Linked DNA regions of Homo sapiens: region 2 is linked to region 1. The links are contacts of gene promoters, found by promoter capture Hi-C in human tissues and cell types (Jung and others, 2019). All regions are on one chromosome and are shown on one strand. Each heading gives the region's core, a stretch centred on a gene start or on the middle of the fragment in contact. The rest is flanking DNA. Distances are from core to core; before and after follow the strand shown. Region 1 holds the start of PPIL4 (peptidylprolyl isomerase like 4). Region 2 overlaps SASH1 (SAM and SH3 domain containing 1).

The links. Contacts are between HindIII fragments. The study calls those that stand out against the background at their distance.
Region 2: a contact is called between a fragment that was not itself captured here and the fragment with the promoter of PPIL4 in region 1, in 1 of the 25 tissues and cell types used here (hippocampus).

The regions. Positions count from the first base shown.
Region 1 is chr6:149,544,289-149,551,182 of GRCh38, reverse strand. It overlaps PPIL4 (peptidylprolyl isomerase like 4), which reads left to right and starts at 5,140. Exons shown (of 13, transcript NM_139126.4): 1 at 5,140-5,247. The coding sequence starts at 5,178. RefSeq lists enhancers at 3,571-4,247, 4,951-5,250. The HindIII fragment of the contact is 4,905 bases long and covers 2,859-6,894 here.
Region 2 is chr6:148,522,765-148,529,655 of GRCh38, reverse strand. SASH1 (SAM and SH3 domain containing 1) reads right to left here. Exons shown (of 20, transcript NM_015278.5): 11 at 4,291-4,365; 12 at 2,060-2,203. Among named protein-coding and RNA genes, the nearest start is that of SASH1, 180 kb to the right of the region's middle. The HindIII fragment of the contact is 3,300 bases long and covers 303-3,602 here.

The sequences.
Region 1 (6,894 bases), core at 3,891-6,390:
TTTCAGACAAACAAATGCTGAGAGAATTTGCCACTACCAGCAGAAACTCTACAAGCTAGAAGGGACTGGTGGCTCTGCTGGTCCCAGAAGCCTCCAAACTAACCCTGGGGAATGATTTAACTGTTTACACCCCACATAATGTGGCAGGACTACTGTACTCTAGAGTAAGGCTTTGGCTAACAGAGAGCTGACTCCTTAAATATCAGGCCCTGCTGTTAGAGGGTTCCCACATCCAATTAAAGACTTGTTCTAACCTAAATCCAGCCACCTTCCTCCCTGAGGAAACTGGGGAACCTGAACATAACTGTGAACAAGTCATAGTACAAACCTATGCAGCCAGGGAGGAACTCAGGGAAACTCCCCTAGAGAAGCCAGACTGGACCCTCTTCACAGATGGGAGCTCTTTATAGAACAAGGGATCCGCAAGGCAGGATGCACAGTAGTCATTGACTACCTGCTCCAAGGAAGGAGGCAGCCATAATCCCCCTGGGAACACAACTCCATTGGCTTAAATATCAGGCCCTGTTGTTAGAGGGTTCCCACATCCAATTAAAGACTTGTTCTAGCCTCAATCTAGCCACTATTTGATTCTATTGAATTTGATTCTATTGAAAGTGTGTCTCTTCCTCCAGGCACAAGCGCTCAATTAGCTGAGCTAATAGCTCTTACAAGAGCAATTGAATTAAGCAAAGGTAAGGTAGCTAATATTTACACTGACTCCAAGTATGCTTTCCTAGTTTTCCATGCTCATGCGACCATTTGGAAGGAAAGGCATTTTCTTTTCTTTTTTTTGAGATGGACTTTTGCTCTTGTTGCCCAGGCTGGAGTGCAATGGCGCGATCTCAGCTCACTGCAACCTCTGCCTCCCAGGTTCAAGTGATTCTCCTGCTTCAGCCTCCCAAGTAGCTGGGATTACATGCACCTGCCACCATGCCCAGCTAATTTTTGTATTTTTAGTAGAGACGGAATTTCACCATGTTGGCCAGGCTGGTCTCGAACTCCTGACCTCGTGATCTGCCCGTCTCGGCCTCCCAAAGTGCTGGGATTATAGGCGTGAGCCACCATGCCCGGCCTGGAAAGGCGTTTTCTTACCACCAATGGATCCCCTATAAAATATCACCAGGAAATTAATACATTACTATCCTCAGTTTTCCTTCCATGAGAAATCGCAGTAATGCATTGTAGGGGACATCAAAAGGGAACAGATGAGGTAGCTGAAGGAAACAGATTAGCTGATCAGGCAGCTAAGTCAGCGGCAAGAAAGCCTCAAGACATTAACACTTCAAACTCCTCTAGTGTGGGAAGGCTCCATCAGAGGAATTAAACCTCAGTACTCCCCTACAGAAGCAGAATGGGCCACTTCTTGAGGGTATACATTTCGGCCCTCAGGATGGTGACAGTCGGAGGATGGCAAGCTCCACTTGCCAGCCTCTAGCCAATGGAAAGTCCTTGAAGTCCTTCACCAAGCTTTTCACCTGGGAAAGGATAAGACATATCAATGTGCCCAGAGATTGTTTTCAGGAGATAACTTACTAAAAACAGTTAAGGAGGTTGTTAATGCTTGTGAAGTCTGTCTTAAAAATAATCCTTAACAGGCGACTCCTTCCTCCTCAACCCCAAAGAATAGGAGGTTATCCAGGAGAAGACTGCCAAATAGACTTCACCCACATGCCGAAGACAAAGGGCATCCAATACCTGCTGGTATGGTCAGACACCTTCACTAACTGGGTAGAGGCATTCCCATGCCGTACAGAAAAAGCCTCTGAGGTAATAAAAGTGTTTGTTAGTTAATGAAATAACTCCCCGCTTTGGTCTACCTAGGTATCTTCAAAATGACAATGGACCCTCATTTAAGGCAGCTGTCACACAAGGGGGTCTCAAAAGCACTAGGCATAGAATACCATCTCCACTGTGCTTGAAGACCCGCATCCTCAGGAAAGGTAGAGAAAACTAATGATATGATCAAGAGACACATCAGAAAATTAACCCAAGAAACTCACCTTCCTTGGGTCACTCTTCTTCTTATGGCCTTACTACGAATAAAAAGTACCCCTTCAAAACTTCGTCTTAGCCCTTTTGAGATGCTGTATGGATGACCTTTCTTTACCAATGATTTTCTATTAGATCAAGAAACCTCTGAGCTAGTCAAGCAGGTAACTTCTCTGGCTCACTTGCAACAGGAATTAGCACAATTAGCAAAGCCCCAACCCCAGGAAATTGGACCACCTCTATTTAACCCAGGAGATTTGGTACTGGTGAAGGCTCTCCCTTCTCTCTCTTCCTAAGCCCAAGCTGGGAAGGGCCTTACACCATTCTTTCAACTCCCTCAGCAATAAAAGTTACAGGAATCAACTTTTGGATACATCACACTCGAGTCAAAGCCTGGAAAGCTGAGGGAGCAACCCCTGACAGCCCAGAGAAATGACCTGAATATCAATGCGAAGAAGTAGGAGACCATAAGCTGAAAATCACAAAAGATAAGTAACGGAGTAAGAACCACTCACCTTAGTCTCGCCTCTACCTCACCAAATACTTTTTGCCGTTTCTACCTCTCCTTTTAAGCCAAGTATTACTATATACTATAGCACCCTCAGGGTGTAATATCGAACAGAATCTCAATTACTGTAGCATTTTGCTTAATTACTATCCTTACAGCAGGAATAACAGTTATTAACCAACAGTAAACATGAGTGTTTTACTATCACTAGGTCTGTTAGGATTTTTTATGGGACTTAGTAATACGTCACACCCTTTAGCTCCTACAATATCCGCCATGGCCCATTTCTACAACAAGACTAATTGTTGGGTCTGTCCTAAATGGTTTGCTCAGTTCAACAGCACTGAGGAACCTTACAATGACCCAGAACTCACAGTCTTAGGATTCCCTTTGTTGGCTTTACTTTTAACCCTTAAACACATATCAGGCATAAATGGAACATGGTATGGGAGCACTTTCTTTTTTTTTTTTTTCCTCGAGACGGAGTCTCGCTCTGTCACCCAGGCTGGAGTGCAGTGGCGCAATCCCGGCTCACTGCAACCTCCACCTTCCGTGTTCAAGCAGTTCTCCTGCCTCAGCCTCCTGGGTAGCTGGGATTACAGGCATGCGCTACCACACCCAGCTAGTTTTTTTTTTTTTTTTTGTATTTTTTATTAGAGACGGGGTTTCACCATGATGGGCCCGGCTGGTCTCAAATTCCTGACCTCAGGTGATCCGCCCACCTCGGCCTCCCAAAGTGCTGGGATTACAGGCATGAGCCACCACGCCCAGCCATGAATATTGTGGTGGCAGTCGCTGTGGCGGGCACCTGTAGCCCCAGCTACTGGGGAGGCTGAGGCAGGAGAATCGCTTGAACCCAGGAGGCGGAGGTTGTAGTGACCTGAAATCGCACCACTGCACTCAAGCCTGGGCAACAGATCGAGACTCCGTCTCAAAAAAAAAAAAAAAAACCCAAACCGAAAAACCATATTTATTCATTCAACAAACATTTATTTGCACATTGTGTACCAGGCTGTCATACGCATTAGGGATATAGCTTTAAACAAAACAGACAAGATGGAATATCCTGGAACACACATTCTAGTAACAATAAACAAACAAACAAATTCGTAAATAGCATGTTAGATTGTAAAATGTACTCTGGAGAAAAAGCTATATGGAGAAAAAGAAGTGTCTGTGGGGTTAATTTTAATTATGGCAGCCATGGAGGGCCTCACTGACAGGGTGACCGACGCCAAAGCGCCTGAAGGAGGTGAATGGGAGCCATACAAATAACTGGAGGAAGAGGTCCCTCAACCAAGGCAAGTGAAAAGGCCATGGGGCAGGAGTATGTCAGCAGTGTTCAGGGAATAGCAAACTGTCTACTGTGGCTTCAGAGGAATAAGAAGATGGCGTAGGATGGGGTAGGAGAGGATCTTGTAAATCATTATAAAAGCTCTGGCTTTTCCGCCAGGTGCGGTGGCTCAAGCCTGTAATCCCAGCACTTTGGGAGGCGGAGGCGGGCGGATCCACGAGGTCAGGAGGTCGAGACCATCCTGGCTAACACGGTGAAACCCGGTCTCTACTAAAAACACAAAAAATTAGCCGGGCGTGATGGCGGACACCTGTAGCCCCAGCAACTCGGGAGGCGGAGGCAGGAGAATGGGGTGAACCCGGGAGGCGGAGCTTGCAGTGAGCCGAGATCGCGCCACTGCACTCTAGACTGGGCGACAGAGCGAGACTCCGTCTCAAAAAAAAAAAAAAAAAAAAAAGCTTTGGCTTTTCGTCAGATGTGAAGTTATTGGAGATTATGTGTAAAATGTCATAAGAAAGAGTGACAGGCTTGCCCAGAAGAGTGTCTGGGGAATAAACTTGCATGGCAAAATGTTAGTTTTGGCCAGGCGCAGTGGCTCACGCCAGTAATCTCAGCACTTCGGGAGGCCAAGGCGGGAAGAGTTCGAACTCCTTGAGCTCAGGAGTTTGAGACCAGTCTGAGCAACATAGTGAGACCACCTCCCCCGACCGCCATCTCTACAAAAAATAAAAGAACAAAATTAGCCGGGCGTGGTGGCGCGCGCCTGTGGTCACTTGGGAGGCTGAGACAGGAAAATCGCTGGAGCCCGGGAGGTGGAGGTTGCAGTGAGCCGACATCGCGCCACTGCACTCCAGCCTGGGCAACAGAGCGAGACCCTGTCTCAAAACAGAAAACAAAACAAAATGTTAGTTCTTAGAATCGGAAACCCCTAGTAGAGGCCCAAAGTTGTTTTGCGAAAAGGAGACTGACGAGGAAACCCGGAGGAGTCCGCCCAAATAGGTGGAGAGAAGATCCCGCCGCGGGCGCCCCCTGGTGGATAAAAGGGCCGCGCGGAGGGCCGCTCTGCTCTTGAGACGGACACAAACGGGGCACAAAACACTATACTGAGACCGTTCTGAGGGACAGGCTTCCACCAAAATCGCCAAGGGCGGACCAGGATTTTCAAAACGGCCGCGCCGGGGGCGGGACCAACCCGATCCGTAAGTCAGCTGGGCAGCCCGGCGCCCGCACGCCGACCGGAAGGAACTGCTCGGAACCGGGGGCGGCGCCGGCGAGATGACGCAAAAGGGGTCGCGCCGAGGGTGACGCGTGGCGTAGACGACGCCGTCGGCCTGCGCCTGTCACCCCCCTCCTCCCGGGGTTTGTAGCGGAGGAGGAGCGGGCGCCATGGCGGTTCTACTGGAGACCACTTTAGGCGACGTCGTCATCGACTTGTACACCGAAGAACGGCCGCGTGGTGAGGCTTGAGCCCCACTCACCTGTCGCCGGGGCCCCCGAGCTTGTCTCCCTACTTTCCCTTCTCTGCGCAGTCCAGGGCAGAGATTGGCTAGAGCTCGAGCTTCTGGGCTGCTGGTGCCCGCGACTGGGCTATTTTATTAACCGGCCTTGGCTAGAAAAGTTTTTGTGACGGGAATTCGTTTGAGCCTTGGCAGCCCTTCTCCCGTATTTTGTGTTGGCCAGTCCGGTGGACGGTGCTTGCGGTCATTAATTGCCTTTGGGAGTGTGTGTGTGGGGCGTGTGTGTGTGTGATTCGAGCTGCACATACAATACCCATAGCTTTTGTGCCTTTATTGTGTTTACTCGTGAGAGGAACATAGGAACTATTGCTTGGTGTGTAATCGGTTAAATCTTGATGAAGGCAGTTAGGGTGTGCTTGGCGCAGCGAGTGTGGGCATACCGCTTAGGTGGAGGAGGAAGAGGTTGTCTGGAGTGTGGACTGAGCCTTCGAGGCACTGGGCTAAGTCCTGGGCTTGGCTTCTTGCCCCCGAGGGTCTGATTTTTCCACTGGGGGAAGTAGACACAGGAACCCATTTTAGTTTTCTATGTGTTATGGTAGAAGAATGTGTAAGTTGCCACGGAAACCAGAAGAGGGCGGCTTCTTTGGTGGGGGGTGGGAAGAAGCAAAGCTAGCGAATACTATATAGAACACTTGAACTAGTTCTTTCAAAGATGAATGGGAATGAGGGTTTTCTTAGCTTGGACTTTCTTTGTTTGGAATTTTCTGGAAACGGCAAGTAGTTTGGTGTGGCTGGAAGGACTGGTGTGAGTCGTGGAATGGTAGACTCGAGTGTGGTCAGATACGCCTAGGTCAGTCGTGAATAGTCTTGTGTGCCCTACTGATGATCAGAGTCCTTGAAGACTTTAAAAGCAGGATTGAGGCATGGCATACTTGTTTTGAGAAGATAATAGGCAGCGGTGTGGAGAATGTATCAGAGTCAGGAAGAAACTGAGACCAGGAGAGATTAGTTACAAACAGGGTCCTACCCACATGGAATGCAGAGCCTATCAAAGAAGGTGAAATAAGTTGCAATATTGTACAATAACTACCTCCTGCCGTGCTCCGCTTTCCCTCGCACGCAGCTATTCCTCCCTCCTCTCCACCTGGCGAAAACACTACAAACTCTCCCGTACCATTGTTACCATTCTTTTGCTGTTTCTTCTAAACAATATTCTTCTCCACTATTGTCCTTCTGGCAAACTTACTACTTATTATCTAAATCTCAGATCAAGCATCATCTCTTCTTTGAAGCTCTCCCTCCTTTCTAAGCAGAGTTACCTGAGGGTTCCTCTGCTGTGTCTTAGGTCTTTTATAAACCACATGACACATTTTATTTTAACATTTACCTATTATCCTGGTGTTGTTTACAAGCGTGCCCTCGCTCAAGAATGTAAACTCCAATGAGAGCAGGAACTATACCATAATTATCATCTCTATATCCTGAGTACCCAGTACAATGTCTGCTACTTTTAGGGCACACACTAGAGGTTCATTATGATGACTAATGGATATAAATGTGTTGTATTAGTTAGGACCCTTTGTTCAAGTGATAGAAACCCAACTCAAACTGGCATAAACAAAATAATTGGTTGCCTCATAATACTG
Region 2 (6,891 bases), core at 703-3,202, 1.0 Mb after region 1:
TATTGAAAAATGCCAAAATGACATTAAAATTCTATGCTTCTGATTCATAAAGCAGAAAACCTCTGTGAACGTAAAGCTTAAGAGTTTTAGTGGCTGTTTCAATCTATCTTGGGGAAAAGCAAACTTAATAAAATGCTTTCAATTAGTAGCATGCTCTCACTAGCATGCTGACTGCTTCATTGCTGGGAAGAAATATAGAATCACTATCACTCCGTCACCCACAAGGACAAGAGAATGAAAAGAATAAAGAAAAAAAATCATGGATAAGACATGCTGAAGGCAGTCCAGACATCTATCTCCTGCAGGTCTAACAAGCCACGGTTTCTCAGCCTGAGCACTGATCATTTTGATGGACAGCTCTTTGCTGTGCAGACCGTCCTGTGCATGCTAAGATGTTTGGCAGCGTCCCTGGCCTCTATCCTCTAGATCAGCATTCTCCAACTCCCGGGCCACGGACCAGAACCCGTCTGTGGCCTGTTAAGAAGTGGGCCGTACAGCAGGAGGTGAGTGGCGGGTGAGCAGGCCAAGCTTCATCTGTTTTCACAGCCACTCTCCATTACCCGCATTACTGTCTGAGCTCCACCTCCTGTCAGATCAGCGGCGGTATTAGATTCTCGTAGGAGCACGAATCCTATTGTGAATTGTGCACACGAGGCATCTAGGTTGCACGCTGTTTATGAGAATCTAATGCCTGATGATCTGTCACTGTCTCCCATCATCCCCAGATGGGATCATCTAGTTGCAGGAAAACAAGCTCAGGGCTCCCACTGATTCTACATTATGGTGAGTTGTATAATTATTTCATTATATATTACAATGTAATAACAATAGAAATGAAGTGAACAATAAATGTAATGCATGTGAATCATCCTGAAACCACCACCTACACCAGCTCCGTGGAAAAATTGCCTTCCACGAAACCAGTCCCTGGTGCAAAAAGATTGGGCACTGCTGCCCTAGATGCCAGCAATATCCACTCCACTTCACCTCAACCCAGTCTGACCATTGAAAGACATTGCCCTGGAGTCCATGGGGGAGCAAAATGATAGCCTCTCACCCCTTCCCCGTGAGAACCACTGTAATCAACTGAAGCTGCTGTGCAGGCTTTGTTTGAATCAAGTGAGGTGGGTGGCAGGCTGGTGACGTTCGGTCATTCGCATAGGGGCGATGCTTGGTTTTAGCTCACTGTGCCCACCAGAGAGCAGCAGCTGAGCAAAAATGTCTGCTTTTCCTGCTGTTTTTATTTGGTAGATAAAGTGCATTACCTACATATTTCAAGCAGACAACCAGCTCATACACAGGAACTTCAACAGGCTACAAAATGAGTGCTATACAGGTGCTGGAGGAGAGTGTCTTGAAAATTGAATGGTCATAATTACCTTGAGGCCCAGCTCTCCAACTATCTTTACTCCCTCCACCCATGCAATTTAGACAGAAACAGTCATTTCTCTAGCAATGAAATTATAGATCCAGGGGGGAAAAATCAATTCTATGATACCTTCCTTCATGGCTACAGATAAGGCAAATGAGGGAAAACACCCCTCTCTGAAACATTATTACCAAAGCCTGGTACCCAGGAAGAACTTTGAGTTTATTTCTTAGACTGGCTATGTGCTTCTAGAACAACTTATGCTATGATCGACAAGTCTACTGCCACCCCCCCCCCCAAAAAAAAAAAGCTTTAGGTTTGATTCAGGTAACATCCATTTTGTAGCAAGGCATAGTTTAGAAAATAAAATCCTTCCTTTGTATTCAAATTTACAACGCTTAGTGCACTGAAGAATAACCATTTCTTTACATGTCTGTCTCTCTTGTCTGTACACAGAAGGCAAGTTCTGTATTTTGTATTCCCAGCACCAAGCACGGTGCTGAGCAGCCCAAAGTGCTTAATAAACGTGTGTTGAATTCAGTGTTTCTCTACGTAAATAAAGCACGGACTTGGAGCAGGTTAATGCCAAGGAGTATGTGTATTTAGCACCATTTAAAATCTCAGAAGGGCCATTCTCAGCTTTTCTTGTCAGGAAGAACCAAGGGAACATTCTACCAGGTAGCTGCATACCTGCTCAGAGACAGAGCTGCTGTATTTTTTAGACATTCTCTTTCTCATCGTCTCTTTCACTGATTTCACCTTTTTCCCAAGAGAGATGCGAGAGGCAGTAGGTGATTTGATGACTTCTTTGTACACAAAGTCTCCTTCTTTACCCTGTAAAACAAAATGTTGCAAGTATTGTTGGTCGCAGAAAATGAAGAACAGGTTTTATTATTTAAACCATTAACATCCTAGCTCTCAGAAATATTGACATTCCTCATGGATCTTGACGTTTTTCTTGTGTTAACTCAGTGCTATTATTTATCTCTTTGATTAAAAATTAAAGCTTATTGACTATTTTTGTTTGCTTAAAGTGGGATGTGAGTCACTTTTTATTTTACTTACTTTTAGTACATTCTTATCAGGTTACATTTTTTCCACTATTTTTAACATCCAAGGGGGCTGCATTTCATCAGTAAAGAGTGATTTACCTTTGGGAGGCTGAGGCAGGTGGATCACGAGGTCAGGAGATCGAGACCATCCTGACTAACACGGTGAAACCCCGTCTCTACTAAAAATACAAAAAATTAGCTGGGCGTGGTGGTGGGCGTCTGTAGTCCCAGCTACTCAGGAAGCTGAGGCAGGAGAATGGTGTGAATCCGGGAGGTGGAGCTTGCAGTGAGCTGAGATCGCGTCACTGCACTCCAGCCTGGGCGACAGAGTGAGACTCCCTCTCAGAGGGAAAAAAAAAAAAAAAAAGTGATTTACATGAACCAATGTTCATGTAATCCCAGCAATGGGGGAGAATAGAGGGATAATACTACCGAATTGCCTGGAGAAAGAGATTAGAACAAATGGTGAAAGCTCAGTCGTTAGAAGAGCAACATCTGATTGGATTTCCATCACCATAGCACTCAGTGTGTAAATTTCTCTCTCTTAAAGAGCTAGATTGTGGTCATCTCTCATTCTAGTCTGCATTTTTTTAAAAAACAAACTTCTCCCTGAGAAAGAAAAAAATCATATTTTCTCTCATTTCTAAAAAAGATTGACAGCAGAAAACTATTGGCTTAAGAATCAATATAATTCGATAGCCAAATAAAATAGTTTAATTCTCTTCCAGGAAATTTTCAAAACATTTCATATATATCCCAGGTGGGTATTTTAGCTGACCCATGATCATAACAAATATGAAACATGAAATCTTCATTTTACAGTTTTATGACACAATGCAAAGGACAAGCTAAACTACATGTAAGACTCACCAAAGGCCGGGCGCGTGGCTCACACCTGTAATCCCAGCACTCTGGGAGGCCAAGATGGGCGGATCACAAGGTCAGGAGTTCAAGACCAGCCTGGCCAACATGGAGAAACCCCATCTCTACTAAAAATACACAAATTCTCTGGGCATGGTGGCGTGCACCTGTAATCCTAGCCAGTCGGGAGGCTGAGGCAGGAGAATTGCTTAACTGGGATCTGGGAGGCAGAAGTTGCAGTGAGGCAAGATTGTGCCACTACACTCCAGTCTGGGCTACAGAGCGAGACTCCATCTTAAAAAAAAAAAAAAAAAAAAAAAAAAAAAAGACTCACCTTCACCCTTGGGGTCTGAGAAAGCAAATTTCAGGAAACAAAACTTGTGTGCCACTGTGGTGGCCTGTCCCTAGACTATGACCCCAAAGCAGGTCTGAGAGGGCAGACACCTGGGCCTGACACCAGACCCCTGAGGGATCTGGTCTGCTTTGGTCCCACAGAGACTGGGTTCATTCCAGGACACCCCAGACCACAAAATCCTAGGCTTAGTATAGGCCATGTGGGGCCAGGTACTGGGCCCATAATAAGACTGGTGTTCCAAAATGCCAGCACATACTCTTGGGGACCAAATCACAGGGCTCCACTTCATGGCACTATGTGTGTGTAGTAGTTACATGCTTGCAACTAGCAAGAAGAAAAGGCCGTGTGCAAAATGACTCAGACCACAGAGGCCAGACTTATCTGGATTTGTTACTTGAAGAAAACTGGAAGCAAAGGCATTAAAGGAACTGTGCTACTCAAGGAAGGAGATGGCAGTGAGAGTGGTCATCATTCATTCCACGTGGAACAGTGGAGTCTGTAAGGCAAGTGAAATAGAGCTTTTTTCCAAACGTGACTCAGGATTACCAAGGAAAACGGTACCCAGTATCAATTCTCAAAGATACTCAATGGTGAACTATTGTCAACCTCATCGCCTGAATCCATATTTTTTGCTTTCCTCTGATGTTACTCACCATTGGGTCAGAATTATTACTGCCAACGTGCAGAGAGCGATTCGTCAAGTCAAATCCTCCAAAACTGCAGGTTCTCTGTGGAAAAGAGGGTAGGGCAGAAAAACTTCAGTTATGCTTAAGCCAGCCGGCAGTGCACCAACCCAGCAGTCCCCGTTTGCAGGACATCTCTGAATCACAAATACGTGGACAGGATGAAAGTAGAAAACGAGAAATGATGAGAAAAAAACACATGAGTCATGTCGTAAGGAAACTTCACTCATTTTTCCCTTTCACAGGCCACTGGAACTCTGCCTACCCCAGAGGTCTAGAATCCCCTTAACATGCAAAAACCAACCATTTTTTTTAAAAAGCCTAAAAAACAAAAGAAAAACCCTCCATGAGTCCAGTGCTGTGAGATTCCCTGTCTCCAGCACAGAACTTCCCCTAACATCAGCTACATTCAGTAGAGATAATGAAGGGATATGTGTTAGAGGATCCATGTACTCAGGCATCCTGAAAACCCAGGTTTGAAATCCCACGGCTCTGACACCAACAGCAAGCTTTTCAAACAGACTTTCATTTTGTTTAGCTTTAAATCGCTGAGAAGAGGGGGGGAGAAGGTTATGTTTACAGTTGTCCAATCAGGCCAAGAGAATTACTCACTCACCGCTTCCCCATCCTAGCCAAAAACGCTGGTAACTTTCCCATCGAACTGCCCAAGTTAATTCATGGTGACCCTTTTCTCTCAGTGAATGAAGATGCCACATTTGCCCAGAAAGAAAACGGTTGATTCAGTGACTGTGTTTGACCACACTTTTTAATTTCAGTAGGAACAATGCTGATGTTATAAAGAATGAAAACTTTATTATCCTTTTAGGTGGTTGCAAACTTCACGGAACTGCTTATATCTTAGTGATTTCTGTATTTGCAGAACTTGATTCAAATTCACTGTTGTTTTTCTAGTAAAAGCCACTGAGTGACCGCCCTGTGCCCCACAACACACATTAATGTTACAGCTAATTATCTTTTTTAAAAATCAGTAATAAAAGTTTAATTGTAGATTCGGGCTTCAATATTTTGTATTACCAGCTTCTCAGAGAAGTCTAATGAACAGCTATTAAATGGAAGAAATGAACAGAAAAGTACAATGTATTAGGTTGGTGCAAAAGTAATCGCAGTTTTGCCATTATTTTCAATGGTAAAAACTGCGATTACTTTTGCACCAACCTAATATACTATAAGCATTGCTTATTCATTAAAAAAAATATATATATATATATATATATATAATTAACTGAATTGATAAAGTAGAAACATCCTAGAAGGAAAATGCCTACATTTTTGAAATCACAGAAATCTAGATGCAAATCCTGGTTCTGCCACTTACTTGCTGTGTGATCTCAGGTAAAGTACTTACACTCTCTGAGCTTTAGATTCTTCATTATTAAAATAATACTTATATCATATTTGAAGCCTTCTAGCGCACTGCCTGGCACAAGGCAGACACTCTATGAATGCTGGTTTCTTCCACTACTTTTCATTAAGGCTGTACTGAGAATGTGGTAGTCATCCTGACAGCTGTTATACTGAAGTTGAGGCTTAGTTAACATTACAAATATGCAAATACAGGGCTGGAGCTTTGTTCTGGGCCTTACAATCTAATCTGGGAGTTCAACTATAAAATCAGAGCATACCAGGAATGGGCCACAAAGTGAGAGACGGCCATTGGGGTCTGGAGAGGGCCAGGAGATAAGGAAAGCATTTCGTGACAACTGACATCAGGAGGTCTCAGAGCTGTTCTTATTCACCGATGCTGCTGCTGCTGCTGCTACTACCGACTTGTTTTCTAATAGACATTATCCTAATTCTGTATTAAATATCAATGGGCAATCTGATTTCTCTTATCGTCAGCTTAACTGGACCTATATCTATTCTATAGAAAGAGAAAAACCTTTCTACACAAATATATTCACCAAATCACCTAACTGGGTAAGCAATGTTATGACCACCTCTCAAGGCTAATTTTTAACATTAACCTTCTCTTTCCAGCTTATAATGCCATGTACATTTCCTCCTTCTTGCAAAAGCAGTGATTTTATTCTAGTTCCTTTCCCGTGACTCAGGGCTTCACAGACATGGTATGGCACCCAGATGCCTCATCATTGTATGGCTTTTGCACGTCCCTGCTTTAAACCACAGCATCTACTGCAATGTTGGAGCCCAAGTTATTTCTGATACATATGAAATAAGTGACAAAGAATTTATGTGGAAATTATGACTGCAATAAATTAGAATCTCATTTAAGTTTTCACATGCCTATTGTATGCATTTATTTCTAAAATGAAAAACTGAAAGAATGGACCAGTTTTCTTAACTACCAACTAAAACCTCTTTCAGTGATAGGCTAAGATATCTGGAATTGATTCTTTTTTACAGTGGAGGAGTGACAAAGAATATAACAATAAAGATTGCTTGAATTAATTTCTAACTTTTTCTATAAGATCAAGTAGTTCTTTAAACAGCATTCCTTCAAAAGAGAAAATGGACTGTAAAGAGACTCATAAAAAATAAATCAATACATGAACCAGCCCTTGACGTTGATGACCTAAATAAATGAAGCCT